Regions from separate parts of the Homo sapiens genome. Here regions 1, 3 and 4 are each linked to region 2. The links are contacts of gene promoters, found by promoter capture Hi-C in blood cells and fetal thymus (Javierre and others, 2016). All regions are on one chromosome and are shown on one strand. Each heading gives the region's core, a stretch centred on a gene start or on the middle of the fragment in contact. The rest is flanking DNA. Distances are from core to core; before and after follow the strand shown.

Evidence for each region. The method cuts DNA at HindIII sites, captures the fragments that hold promoters and counts their contacts. A CHiCAGO score of 5 or more calls a contact.
Region 1: a contact is called between a fragment that was not itself captured here and the fragment with the promoter of CCNE1 in region 2, in 2 of 17 cell types (activated CD4 T cells and non-activated CD4 T cells). The highest score is 5.8, in activated CD4 T cells.
Region 3: a fragment that was not itself captured here is called in contact with the fragment with the promoter of CCNE1 in region 2 in 1 of 17 cell types (total B cells); the score reaches 5.5 in total B cells.
Region 4: a fragment that was not itself captured here is called in contact with the fragment with the promoter of CCNE1 in region 2 in 2 of 17 cell types (naive CD8 T cells and total CD8 T cells); the score reaches 5.7 in naive CD8 T cells.

The regions. Positions count from the first base shown.
Region 1 is chr19:32,408,845-32,412,031 of GRCh38, forward strand. It overlaps DPY19L3 (dpy-19 like C-mannosyltransferase 3), which reads left to right. Exons shown (of 19, transcript NM_001172774.2): 3 at 2,395-2,528. Among named protein-coding and RNA genes, the nearest start is that of DPY19L3, 4.7 kb to the left of the region's middle. The HindIII fragment of the contact is 772 bases long and covers 1,509-2,280 here.
Region 2 is chr19:29,810,574-29,813,456 of GRCh38, forward strand. It overlaps CCNE1 (cyclin E1), which reads left to right and starts at 1,418. Exons shown (of 12, transcript NM_001238.4): 1 at 1,418-1,579; 2 at 1,959-2,005; 3 at 2,116-2,203; 4 at 2,396-2,464. The coding sequence starts at 1,983. RefSeq lists a silencer at 872-1,501. The HindIII fragment of the contact is 7,130 bases long and covers 1-2,655 here.
Region 3 is chr19:32,575,465-32,578,254 of GRCh38, forward strand. No RefSeq gene overlaps it. Among named protein-coding and RNA genes, the nearest start is that of PDCD5, 4.3 kb to the right of the region's middle. The HindIII fragment of the contact is 1,080 bases long and covers 801-1,880 here.
Region 4 is chr19:27,792,494-27,795,572 of GRCh38, forward strand. LINC00662 (long intergenic non-protein coding RNA 662) reads right to left here and starts at 1,447. Exons shown (of 3, transcript NR_027301.1): 1 at 1,039-1,447; 2 at 507-739. LINC02987 (long intergenic non-protein coding RNA 2987) reads left to right here and starts at 938. Exons shown (of 7, transcript NR_146733.1): 1 at 938-1,116. RefSeq lists enhancers at 1,180-1,659, 2,826-3,079. The HindIII fragment of the contact is 5,184 bases long and covers 1-3,079 here.

The DNA of each region.
Region 1 (3,187 bases), core at 645-3,144, 2.6 Mb after region 2:
AGTTGTTTGTATAATGGTAAAGACTTGCTAAGTGATGCATCAGATAGCATTAATTACCAACTTCTTGCTTCCTGAGTAGCTTTTGTAACTAAAGCATGGTCAGGATTTTAAAAGTTAACATGAAAATCTTCATACCCATTAACCATTTTGGATATCTGACAGAATTTACATTATTTACAGCCATGTTAATTCTTACCAGCCAGGCTAGTAAAGCAATTCAGGGAAACAGTTTAACAAAAGTAATCTGTAATGGGAGGTCATGACACCTGGCTCAGCCATTAGCGAGTGATTAACACGTTTTGGATAATAGTACTTTCTGAACACCTTAAACAATGCAAAGAAAAAGAAATATACTCCCATCCTGAAACTAACACCAGTGGCACTGTCTTGCTGTCTTAATGTCATATTCTGCACATGTATACCCATAAGCATTCGTATACAGTTTTGCAAAATTGGGATCCACGTGCTGTTTTGTAGCTTGCTATTTTTCTCTTATTATGTTATGAACATGTCATAAGCCAGTTAACGTATTTTTGAAATATCATCTATGTAAAGTATTTTTATAGCTGCCACTGTAGAAGTGAAAGGTTTTCTTACCATTTGCTAATACAGACAGAACTGTGATCAATTTCCTTGTGGCCATATGTTTGTTTAAAACTTTATTTCCTTGGGGCATGTCTTAGTCCATTTCTGTTGCTATAAAGGAATACTTGAGGCTAGGTGATTTATAAAGAAAAGAGGTTTCTTTGCCTCAGGGTTCTGCAGACTGTATGAGAAGCATGGCACCAGCATCTGCCTCTAGTGAGACCTCAGGAAGCTTCCAGTCGTGGCAGAAGACTTAGGGGAGCCAGTGTGTAGAGATCACATGACCAGAGTAGAAGCAATTTCCAGGGAACACAGGATGTCAGGCTCTTTTTTAACCAACCAGCTCCCCTAGGACTAACAGAATGAAAACTCAGTACTGCTAGAATCTCACCAACCTGTTTATAAGGGCTCTGGTTCCATCACCACACCACCTCCCATTAGGCCCCACCTCCAACATTGGGAATCACATTTCATCATGAGATTTGGAGGGGCCGAATAGTCAAACCACAGCAGGGTACATGCCTAGATTGGGAATTACTGGCCAAATGGGATGCTCATTTTGGTGGCTTTTACTCACTGCTGCCATGTTGCATTCCAGAGAGGCACCAATTTATTCTTCTAGCAGCAATGTTTGAAGATGTCTATTTTTTATACCCTTACCAAAACAGTATTAGCATTTTGAAAGCTGTCAAATTGGCCAAGATTTAAGTATAACTCACAGTTTTGATTTGCATTTCTTTAACATTAATGAATTTAAACATCTTCAGTCTGTTATTATTATTGGCCACTTTTTTCTATTGTACATTGCCTGTTCATGTCCTTAATCTTTTTCCTACTGCAGTATTCATCTTGACAGGACAATAAATTGTCCTGAAATAAAATAAATTGTCCTGAAAGTATTCATCTTATGTTAAGGGTATTTAAGCTTTCTTATATGTGCTATCCATATTTTGCCTAGTTTATATGTCCTTTAACTTGAGTTATGTTGGATTATTTATTCTGTGGGTTTTTCCCCCCAGAGCATTCCTGCAAAACCTGTGGGTTTAAAAAAAAAGTTTTAGGTAATCGGCCAGGTGCAGTGGCTCATGCCCGTAATCCCAGCACTTTAGGATCCCAGCTTGGGTGGGTGAATCACTTGAGGTCAGGAGTTCAAGACCAGCCTGGCCAACATGGTGAAACCCTGTATCTACTAAAAATACAAAAATTAGCCAGGCATGGTGGCATGTGCCTGTAGTCCCAGCTACTCAGGAGGCTGAGGTGGGAGAATTGCTTGAACCTAGGAGGCAGAGGTTGCAGTGAACCGAGATTGCACTACTGCATTCCATCTTGGGCAACAGAACAAGATCCTGTCTCAAAAAACAATAATTATTTTTTAGGTAATCAAGTTTTTAAAATAGCTTTTAAAGAATAAGCCACCAATTGTACCTAGATTATCTAAAAGATCGATTACGTCCTAGACACGTAACACATTTAGTCATCCATTTAACAGACTTCATAGTTAAATTACGGTTGTTAAACTGTGCCGGACAGAGGCCCTCAGTATTAAACATGAATAAGATAATGTATTTGTCTTCAAGAAGCTCACGTTGTAGTTGGCAGAATGGACACATGGACAGTTAGATACGGGGTAACAGTTGTAATAGAATGAAAACAGGTCTGTGGAATCAGAAAGGACCCTCCGCTGGAGACAGGAAAAGCTTTCCCAGTGACAGGCAGCTAGACTTAGCTTACTTGATAATCTGAAGTAGAACTATTACATTCTGATTTTTTTACTGACTTAGTTATTTATCTGTTCCATTTTTCCAAAAGGTTGTACCAGTAGAAGATTATGGAAGATTTTGTCATTGACAATTGGTGGAACCATTGCCCTTTGCATTGGACTTCTTACATCTGTCTACCTTGCCACGTTACATGAAAATGATTTATGGTTTTCTAATATTAAGGTATGGAGTTTCTTTGACCATTGTATCATTCACTCAGTGGGATCTCCAGTAGTAAGCCATGTGGATGAATGACCAAGGCAACACAGTTTTGCCATAAAGAATCCAATCTCTAGAAAGGTTGGACTATAGAGTGAAATAACTTTTGTGTTTATTATTTTAAAATAACATATTAGAATCTTTTTTTAAATTTTTCTTTATTATTTATTTATTTTTGAGATGGAGTCTCACTCTGTCACCCAGGCTGGAGTGCGGTGGCGCAATCTTGGCTCACTACAACCTCTGCCTCGCAGGTTCAGGTGATTCTTCTGGCTTAGCCTCCCAAGTAGCTGGGACTATAGGTGCGTGCCACCACACCCAGCTAATTTTTGTATTTTTACTAGAGACGGGGTTTCAGCATATTGACCAGGCTGATCTCGAACTCCTGACCTTGTGATCTGCCTGTCTCAGCCTCCCAAAGTGCTGGGATTACAGGCGTGAGCCACTGCGTCCAGCCAGAATCTTTATTTTTCATTTTAATTTTTTGAGATAGGGTATTGCTCTGTCACCCAGGCTAGAATGCAGTGGTGCAAACATGGGTCACTGCAGCCTCAACCTCCTGGGCTCAAGTGAGTATCCTGCCTAAGCTTCCTGTGTCACTGGGACCCCAGGCATGCACCACC
Region 2 (2,883 bases), core at 168-2,667:
TGCCTGTCTTTCAAATGTTCATTCAGAAACAATTTAAGTGTCTCCCTTGGTCCAGGCACTATGCCAAGAACTGACAGATACAGCAGTGAGCAAGATGGGCAAGGTGGGGAGAGAGACAAGAAACAGAGAGGCACCAAGACTGTGTAGGGGCTGGGCTCCCAGCACTTTGGGAGGCCAAGGCGGGAGGATCGCTTGAGCTCATGGGTTTGAGACCAGCCTGAGCAACATAGCAAGACCCTATCCCTACCTGCCACCCCCCACCCCCCGCCACAATAAAAAATACAAGTCTTGAGGGAGAAAGGACAGAGGAGCTGTGGAGAGGAGGCCTGAGGTCTGAGGGTGGGGGATCAGGGTCAGGTCCTGTGGAGCCTGTAGCCTAGGACACGGAGTGTGGATTTGACCCTTATGCGAAACAACTGGAAGGCTTTTTGTTTCTTTTTCTGTAGAAATGGGGGTCTCACTGTTACCCAGGCTGGTCTCGAACACCCCAAGGGATCAGCCGTCTCGGCCTCCCACAATGCTGGGATTAAAGGCGTGAGCCACCGCGCCCGGCCTCAACTGGAAGGCTTTAAGTGAGAGATGGGGTGCAAGGGAATCCCAGAGTCAGAAAGGTCTTCAGAGAGCCAGGAAGGGCTTGCGGGGGAGGGGCGCATATGGAAGGGGCGCATGGAAGGAACTCACAGATTCCTTGAATGAATGAATGAACGACCCAATGCACTGACGGATGAATGGACAGGCGGCCAGGAATAGCAGCCGGCCCCCAGGGAGCCCCAGACCCCGCGGCCTGAAGCCTTGGTTCTAGGCCAAGGCACAGGCGCGGTGACCTTGGGGATGTCCCCGCCCAGGACTCAGGGCCCGGAACTCGGCGTCTCGGGGGCGGGGAGGGCGTGCCTGGCGGGACAGCGCGCGCGGAGGAACGGCGGGCGGTGCTCCTCGGGTAGGCCCCCCACACATCCCCTTGGCTCAGCCCTGCCGGGGCCCGAACCCGCGCCGCCCGCCGTGTTTACATTCCACCCGCGCCAGCCACGCGGCTTTTTGCCGCTCCAGCGCCGCTCGGCCCCGCCCCCGGCGCCCGCGGCCCGCCCCTCGCCGCCGCGCGCCAGACTTCTCCCGCGTCCCGCCCGCCGCCCCGCCCCGCGTCCCGCGCCCCGCGCCCCGCGCCCGGCCCTCGGCGCGCAGGCCCTGTCACTTGGCCCCGCCCTGTCCGCCGGCCCCGCCCCTGATTCCCCGTCCCTGCGCCTCGCGGGCCGGCGCCGTGGAGGGGCGGGTCCGGGGGCGGGGCGAGGGACGGGGCGGGACGGGCTCTGGGTCCCGCGCGGCCGCTGAGGGGCTGGGAGCCGCGGCGGGGCGGTGCGAGGGCGGGCCGGGGCCGGTTCCGCGCGCAGGGATTTTAAATGTCCCGCTCTGAGCCGGGCGCAGGAGCAGCCGGCGCGGCCGCCAGCGCGGTGTAGGGGGCAGGCGCGGATCCCGCCACCGCCGCGCGCTCGGCCCGCCGACTCCCGGCGCCGCCGCCGCCACTGCCGTCGCCGCCGCCGCCTGCCGGGACTGGAGCGCGCCGTCCGCCGCGGACAAGACCCTGGTGAGTCTACTGCCGCGGGCTGCGGACAGGGACTCCTGGGGCCCAGACCGCGCCGGGGAGCTGGGTGGGGGCGGGGTGCGGCCGGGTCGCGGGTCCCCGGGCGGCGTCGCGGGGCGCCCGGGAGGGTGCTGAGAGCGCGGCGGGGTGGGGTGGAGGGGACACTGAGGCAGCCCGGGCCCCGGGAGGCGACGGGCCGGTGAGGGCGGCGGGGGCGGCGGGACCCCGGGTCGGGGGTCGGCGGGTGCCCGGGTCGCGGGTGACAGGCCACCCCGCCATCGGCCATCTTCCTGGCTCGCCCGGCCGCCCGCGCGCAAAGGGGGAAGGGGTACTGGGCCCGCGGCCTGACCCCGCCGCCGCCTCACCCCGCGCCGCCCCGCAGGCCTCAGGCCGGAGCAGCCCCATCATGCCGAGGGAGCGCAGGGAGCGGTGAGTGCCCGCGCCGCGGGGCCGGACGGGACGGGACGGGACGGGACGGGTGGCGTGGGGGAGGGGCGGCCGCGGGTGCTCACCCGGCCCGGTGCCACCCGGGTCCACAGGGATGCGAAGGAGCGGGACACCATGAAGGAGGACGGCGGCGCGGAGTTCTCGGCTCGCTCCAGGAAGAGGAAGGCAAACGTGACCGTTGTGAGTACAAAAGAGACAGGTTGGGGAGCATCCCCCCCATCTCACCTGGGTACCCGACTTGGCTCTGCCTACGGGGGCGGGGGTCCCTTGGGCAGGAACGGAGCTCATAACCTGATCAGCTTTCTCTTCTTCTCTCTGTTTTTGTCTTGTTTGGTGTGTTTCCTTGGGGTCATGGGGGTGGCTTCATGTTAGTTTTTGCAGGATCCAGATGAAGAAATGGCCAAAATCGACAGGACGGCGAGGGACCAGTGTGGGAGCCAGGTAGGTCCGCCCGGGGTTGGGCCTCTGTGGAGGTCCTTCTCCCCCTGGGTCACATGGGGTTTCATGCTGTCTTGTCTCTTGCTGGAGACACTCTGGTGAGAGTGAACTTCTCTAATGCAGCCACAGCCCATATGGCCCAGCACTGTACCTGTCAGTGGGCACTGGCCTCTGCCAGTCCTGGGATTCCAGGAAGCTTGGTGTTCCTGACTGGCACCGTCTGAGATTACAGATATGTGCCTAGCCTGGAAGAACCAGAATGGACATCACAGTATTCAGTCCTCCCCTTCTGCCCAGGAGGAAACTGAGACTCAGTTAGAGGAAGAAAGTAACCCAGAGTCCTGTGCCATCCAGGGGCAAAGTTGGGCTCTCGGCCTTGTCTGTAAAAGCTGGTGAACTGGGGGAGGGTTCCTGGGTGTTTA
Region 3 (2,790 bases), core at 91-2,590, 2.8 Mb after region 2:
CAGGGGTCCACGTGCAGGTTTGTTACACAGGTGTATTGCATGATGCTGAGGTTTGGGCTTCTATTGATCCTGTTACCTATATAATGAACATAGTACCCAACAGAGAGTTCTTCAACTATTCCCCTCCTCCCTCCGTCTCACTGTCAGAGTCCGCAGTGTCTGTTGTTTCCATCTTTATGTCCACGTGCACCCGAGATTTAGCTCCCACTTATAAGTGAGAACATGCAATTTTTGGTTTTCTGTTCTGTGTTAATTTGCCTAGGATAAAGGCCTCCAGCTGCATCCATGTTGCTGCAAAGAACATAATTTCTTTCTTTTTTATGACTGCATAGTATTCCATGGTATCTATGCACCATGCATTTTCTAGTTTCTGTTTTTGATGCTCTGACATCTTGGGGCCTTGCTGACCCTGGAGGGATGGTCCCTCCCAGGGCTAGCCACATCCTAAAGATAGTAAGTGACTCTCCTGTGAGCACAGCTTTCAGATGCACACCAGCCAATCCAGAAGTCATTCCCCAACCACCTCCGTTTCAGGGCCCTCACAGGGCTGTTACACTCAGGGCAACTATTTCTCTGCCCTAGTCACCCCAGGGCCCAGTACCAGACTATTAGAAGCAGAGCCCACAAAAATTACTCAAACTAGCCAATCCTGAGCCTGCGTATCTGCCTCACCTGTTCCTTCTCACAGAACTCACAAAAAAGGCTCTCGTCCACTTTTACCCTCTTCCCTCTGCCTCGTGACTGCCCCTGGCCCCTGTGTGGTGTGCCCTGCCTCCTGTTTCTGGCGGTCTGTGAATCTAAGCTTTTTCCTTCATGACCGTCAATTCCGTGCCTGTATGTCTTCGCATATCTAATTTAAACAAATCCTGGGTACCCTTACAACAGAGGCCAAGAAAAATAATCAGGTATAAAAACAACCTGAAAAGAAAGAGGACTAACTCAGGAAATGAAAGAGGATGTTTAATTGGTTTCCAATTATTATTATAACAATATTTAAGAAGTTATTACACTCAAAAATCAAGAACAAGATAGTACGCAAACAGCATGATAATGCTGCATAAACAGAGTAAGGAGAATAAGTAAATAAATAAATTTTTAAACGGTGCAATAAGGGAACAAGAAAGTGTTCTTATAAAATAAAAATATAATGGCTTAAATAAATTCAAGAGAAAGGTCAGATGATAAAACAGAAGAAGCCTTCCATAAAGTAGGACAAAAAGACCGAGATGGAAGACATGAAAGAAAAGGGATATGAAAGATTTATCCAGGAGGCCCAGTTTACAGTTGTCCCAGATAGAGAAAGATAGAAATCAAAGAGGAAAAAAGTATCAAATGGACAACAAAACAAAATTGCCCAAAAGTTAAAGGTAGAAGTTTCCAGATCAAAAGAATCTACCAAGCAAACAGGACAAGGGCTTTTAAAAGGCCCAAACCTTTGCAAAATTTCAGAATCCTGGGAGGAAAAGGAAAGATTCTAAAACTTTTCTTTCTCTTCTTTTTCTTTCTCTTTCTTTCCTTCCCTCCTTCCTTCTTCCTTTCCCATTCCCCTTCCCCTTCCCCTTTTCTTCCCCTCCCTCCCTCTGTCTCTCTCTCTCTCTCTCACTCTCTCTCTCTCTCTCTCTCTCTTTCTCTCTTTCGGGGCTCACTCTCACCCAGGAAAATTCCTAGGCTCAAGCAATTCCCACCTCAGCTTCCCAAGTGGCTGGGACTACAGGTATGCACCACCATGCCCTAATTTTTAAGTTGTTGTAGAGAGAGGGTTCTCACTAGGCTCATCATGTTGCCCAGGCTGGTCTCTAACTCCCAGCCTCAAGCGATCCTCCCACCTCAGCCTCCCAAAGTCCTGGGATTACAGCTGTGAGTCATCACACTTGACCAAAAGCTTTCAGAAAGAGAAAAAAAAAAAACACCACTCACGAAGGAATAGGAATCAGATTTTTGTATCACGAACACCAAATGCTAGAAGACAGATGAGATGTACCTTTATACTCCAAAGGGAGTGGACACTAAACACAACTGGATCACGAACTGACAAGAAAACAAACAGTGGTGGTGAAGGTTATTTGAATAACTGGAGAGACAAATGTGGGCTACATCAAGTAGATGATACTATTTTATCTATATTAATGTATTGGGTACAATAATTATATTATATATGAGTATATCTTTGTTCTTAGGATATACACTTAGGAGTGAACTGACATATTTGAAACCTTCAAATGGTTCAAAAAAACTGTGTGTGTGTGTGTGCATATGCACACACGTATGTATGTGTGTGTAGACATATAAAGTCAATGTGGCAAACTTAATGATTAATGAATGTATGGGAAAGATATATACACGTTCTTTGTACTATTCCTCCAATTTTTATAGATTTGATGGTTTTCACAATGTAAAGTAAGGAATTTTACAAATTACTAATATATAACAAAGTTAGAAGGGTAAATTAAAAATAACATTTTGTATTATATTTTAATTTAAAGTAATTCTGAGGGGAAAATATTTTATCCAAAAGTCTATAACCAACCATGAATTAGTCAAGTGTTATGGTCAATTAAATATTTAGACATATGACAATATAGAAAATTTGTCTATCACAGACTTTTTAAAGACAATTACTTAAAAATGTGTTTCAACAAACTTAAGGGTTAAACCAAGAAAGAGCATAAGGAATCCAAGAAATAGAGGATGAAACTCAAGATGGCAAGGAAGGAAAATCTAGGATAAGAGGTATGCAACAGTCCCCACCATTCAGTGGGGAAAGGACAGTCTTTTCAACAAATGGTGCTG
Region 4 (3,079 bases), core at 125-2,624, 2.0 Mb before region 2:
TGGAAATTATAAAAAGAGTAAAATAGAAGACAATAAAATAATAAAATAAAAAGAACTTTTAGTTTACAGAGTAGAAACAGAAGACAGCAATATAAACCATCCAATCTGAAGACTGAAACAAGTTTAAAGAAAATGAAAAGAGGCCTAAGAGACCTGTGAAATGATTGAGTCTGAGACAGAGAGGGAGAGACAGAAAAATTAAATATAATACAAAAACAAATAAACAATAGCTGAAAATTTAAAAACTTGGTCAAAACCGCAAATTCTTATATTCAAAAGGTGAACACACTCCAAAACAAAAACAAAAACAAATAAAACCATATCGAGGCCCTACTGTGATTTAGAAAACTGGCAGAGCAAGATTTTCCAGGGAGTTGCTATGATTTCTCATTTTCACTATTTATAATAATGGAAAATATGCACTCCTTAGTTTTCTTCTTGGAGAAAGTCTGACTTGTCAAACACAGATGACTTTTCAGTTTAGTTTTCAAGGTTTAATTTCTTACCTTGGAAATCAATTAAATTTGTTTCTTTAAAATGTCGCAGTAAAATTGCTCCTCCAGACAGATGTCCACGGAGATTCTGTCCTGCTGCGTCCGCCTTTCACAGAACTGAGGTTGTTCCTACACCAGTTTCAGAAGCGTGTAGGCACGCTTTATTACAGTGGCAGCAGCGTCCCTGTGCGAGGTCTAACCCAGGTGTGGGCCCTGCAGCCAGCCCGGGGGTCCAATGGGTCCTCCTATGGAGCACAGGAAGAATCGTGGCAGGCCAGAGATAGACAAAAGGTGGCTTTTAAAAGGGAAGTGTCAGGTTACCAGGGACTGGGTACTTTTACACGCGGACCTTCGGCCCTGCCCATAGAAAGGGGCAGCACTGCGCATCTCTGAAGGAGTGTGGCAAAGGGTGGGGCAATAAGAAGGGTGGGGCAGAAAGGAGTGGCCCCTCAGGAGGAAGGGGCGGGGAGATCCCAGCTACTAGAGGACGCCCGTTCCAATGGCAACTCTGCCAAGGCGCCTATGAGAGCCTCTTGGCTTTTACCTGGTCTGCGAGAAATCAAACTTTGGGCACAAGTCATGAAGCCGACAAGCCCGGGAGACACAGTGTCAGAATTACAAGGTGAGATCAGCCGCCCGGCCAAGCTATCTTCTCGCTAGCAGGTGAGGCCCGTGAACAGCCAAGCTCCCCTTGGCACGGCGGAACCGCAGTGGACGCGTGGAGGGGCTCCGTAGAGGAGGGACCTTTGCTTGGGATGCGGGGAGCTGTAGTCTCTTATCTGCACCCAGCTTGTTAGTTGTACGCCTGCAGGACTACAATCTCAGCACAAAGCAGGATTGTAGGGCGGTGCGGATCCCTGGAGGGAGACAGCGCGGTGCGCTCCTGCCGGCCATGCTGGCTGGGGTGGTGTCTTAGGCGGTTCCAGCCGTTAGTCACAGGGCGGCCGGACTACAATCCCAGCATACAACGGGAGTGGAGGTGGTGACCTTGAGAGAGGGCCTGTGCTGTGCGCGCCTCGCGGGGCATGCTGGGAGCAGTAGCATCTTAGCTGCTTCCGGCCGCTGGTCGCAGGGCTGCGGGACTACAATCTTCGCATGAAATGGAAGAGAGGGTGGTGCGGATAGCTTGAGGAAGGTACGGATACCTTGAGGGAGGTATGGATACGTTGAGGGAGGTACGGATACGTTGAGGGAGGTTACGGATACGTTAAGGGAGGTACAGCAGCGGTGCGCGCCTTGCAGGGCATGCTGAGAGGAACAGTTTTTTAACTGCTTCTGGCTGTTGGTGGCAGAGCTGCGGGACTACAATCCCAGTATGCTACGGGAGTGGGGATGATGCTGGTCCCTTGAGGGGGGGGGGCAGCGCGGTGCCCTCCTGCCGGGCATGCTGGTAATAGTGTCTTAGCTGCTTCCGGCCGTTGGTCGCAGGGCTATGGGACTACAGTCTCAGCATGCGCAGGGTTCAAGGGTGTTGCGCAGCCCCGCAGGGAGGGGCAGGGCGGTGTTGACCTCTGTTTCCAAACCCATGCTGGCTACTGAATCTGTGCCACCCCTGGCTAAGGGGAGTGAGTCCATAGAGGGACTTGAAGGGCAGGTCTGGGCTGGGCAGTGAGGAGAGTATGATACTGCAAAGTGCGCCTCGCCTTTGCCAAAATCGGTCGGGTCTCAGGCTCACCCCACCTCCCGCTGCTCAGTTCCGTTTCCCTCCAGAGCATCAAGCCTCCTCCCGCCCAGGGGGCCTCCTGCTTTCCTAAGCTGCTGTGGAATCGGCCTGAGGTCCCAGACGCTGTCCATTGTGCTGCTGCTCTCTGCTTTCTCCAGCCAGAGTGCCAGTTCATCCGCTTTTGGGAGAACTCCGCCGCCTGGCCTGCCCGCGGAAAAGGTCACAGCTTTGCAGGGGGTGACATGGGCTATGGCTTCCTGGAAATGTCACCCTCACTAGCGCCTTTTAGATAGATGTGAATTTTGAGACATGAGGGAGAGTAATTATTGGTTTACCCAGGAGATGCTAAGAGCAGAGGAGAAAACCCTAATTTCCAGGCATGTGTCCTGAGCCAGGGACAGGCTGGCCAGACCCTAAGCCCCCAGTGCCGCCAGAGAGCAGCCTACTGCCCTGATTTGTGTGGAATCCCCTTCGTGCTGCTGGGCCTTAGCGTCAGGGACAGCCCAGTCAGGTGAAGGTGGGGATGACCCATGGGCTTCTGGAAGTGGGTTGGTGGTCCTGGGAGGGCCAGCCCATCCCCCCTTGGAGAGGGTCTTTGTGCTGAAGGATGCCCACAGAGGCCTGGGTACCAGGAACACTGCTCTAGGCAAGGTGCCTTTCTTCCAGATTTGGCTGAAAGGAAGGAAGACTTGGTCAGCTTTTCCACCCAGCCATCTGGCCCTTACAGGGCTGCTCCCCATGGACCTGGGTTTGTAGAGTCCTCCAGGGCTTTGTGTGGCCCACTAGTTCTGATACTGAGGACACCCCTGCAGGCTGTTAATTTCAGAACAAGGGGTGTGTGCAGACTGGGGCATGGGTGCTGTCAGGGTACCCCAGGCTGCTCCAGGGACGGTACCCCAGTGTTCAACTTGGCTTGGGGCCC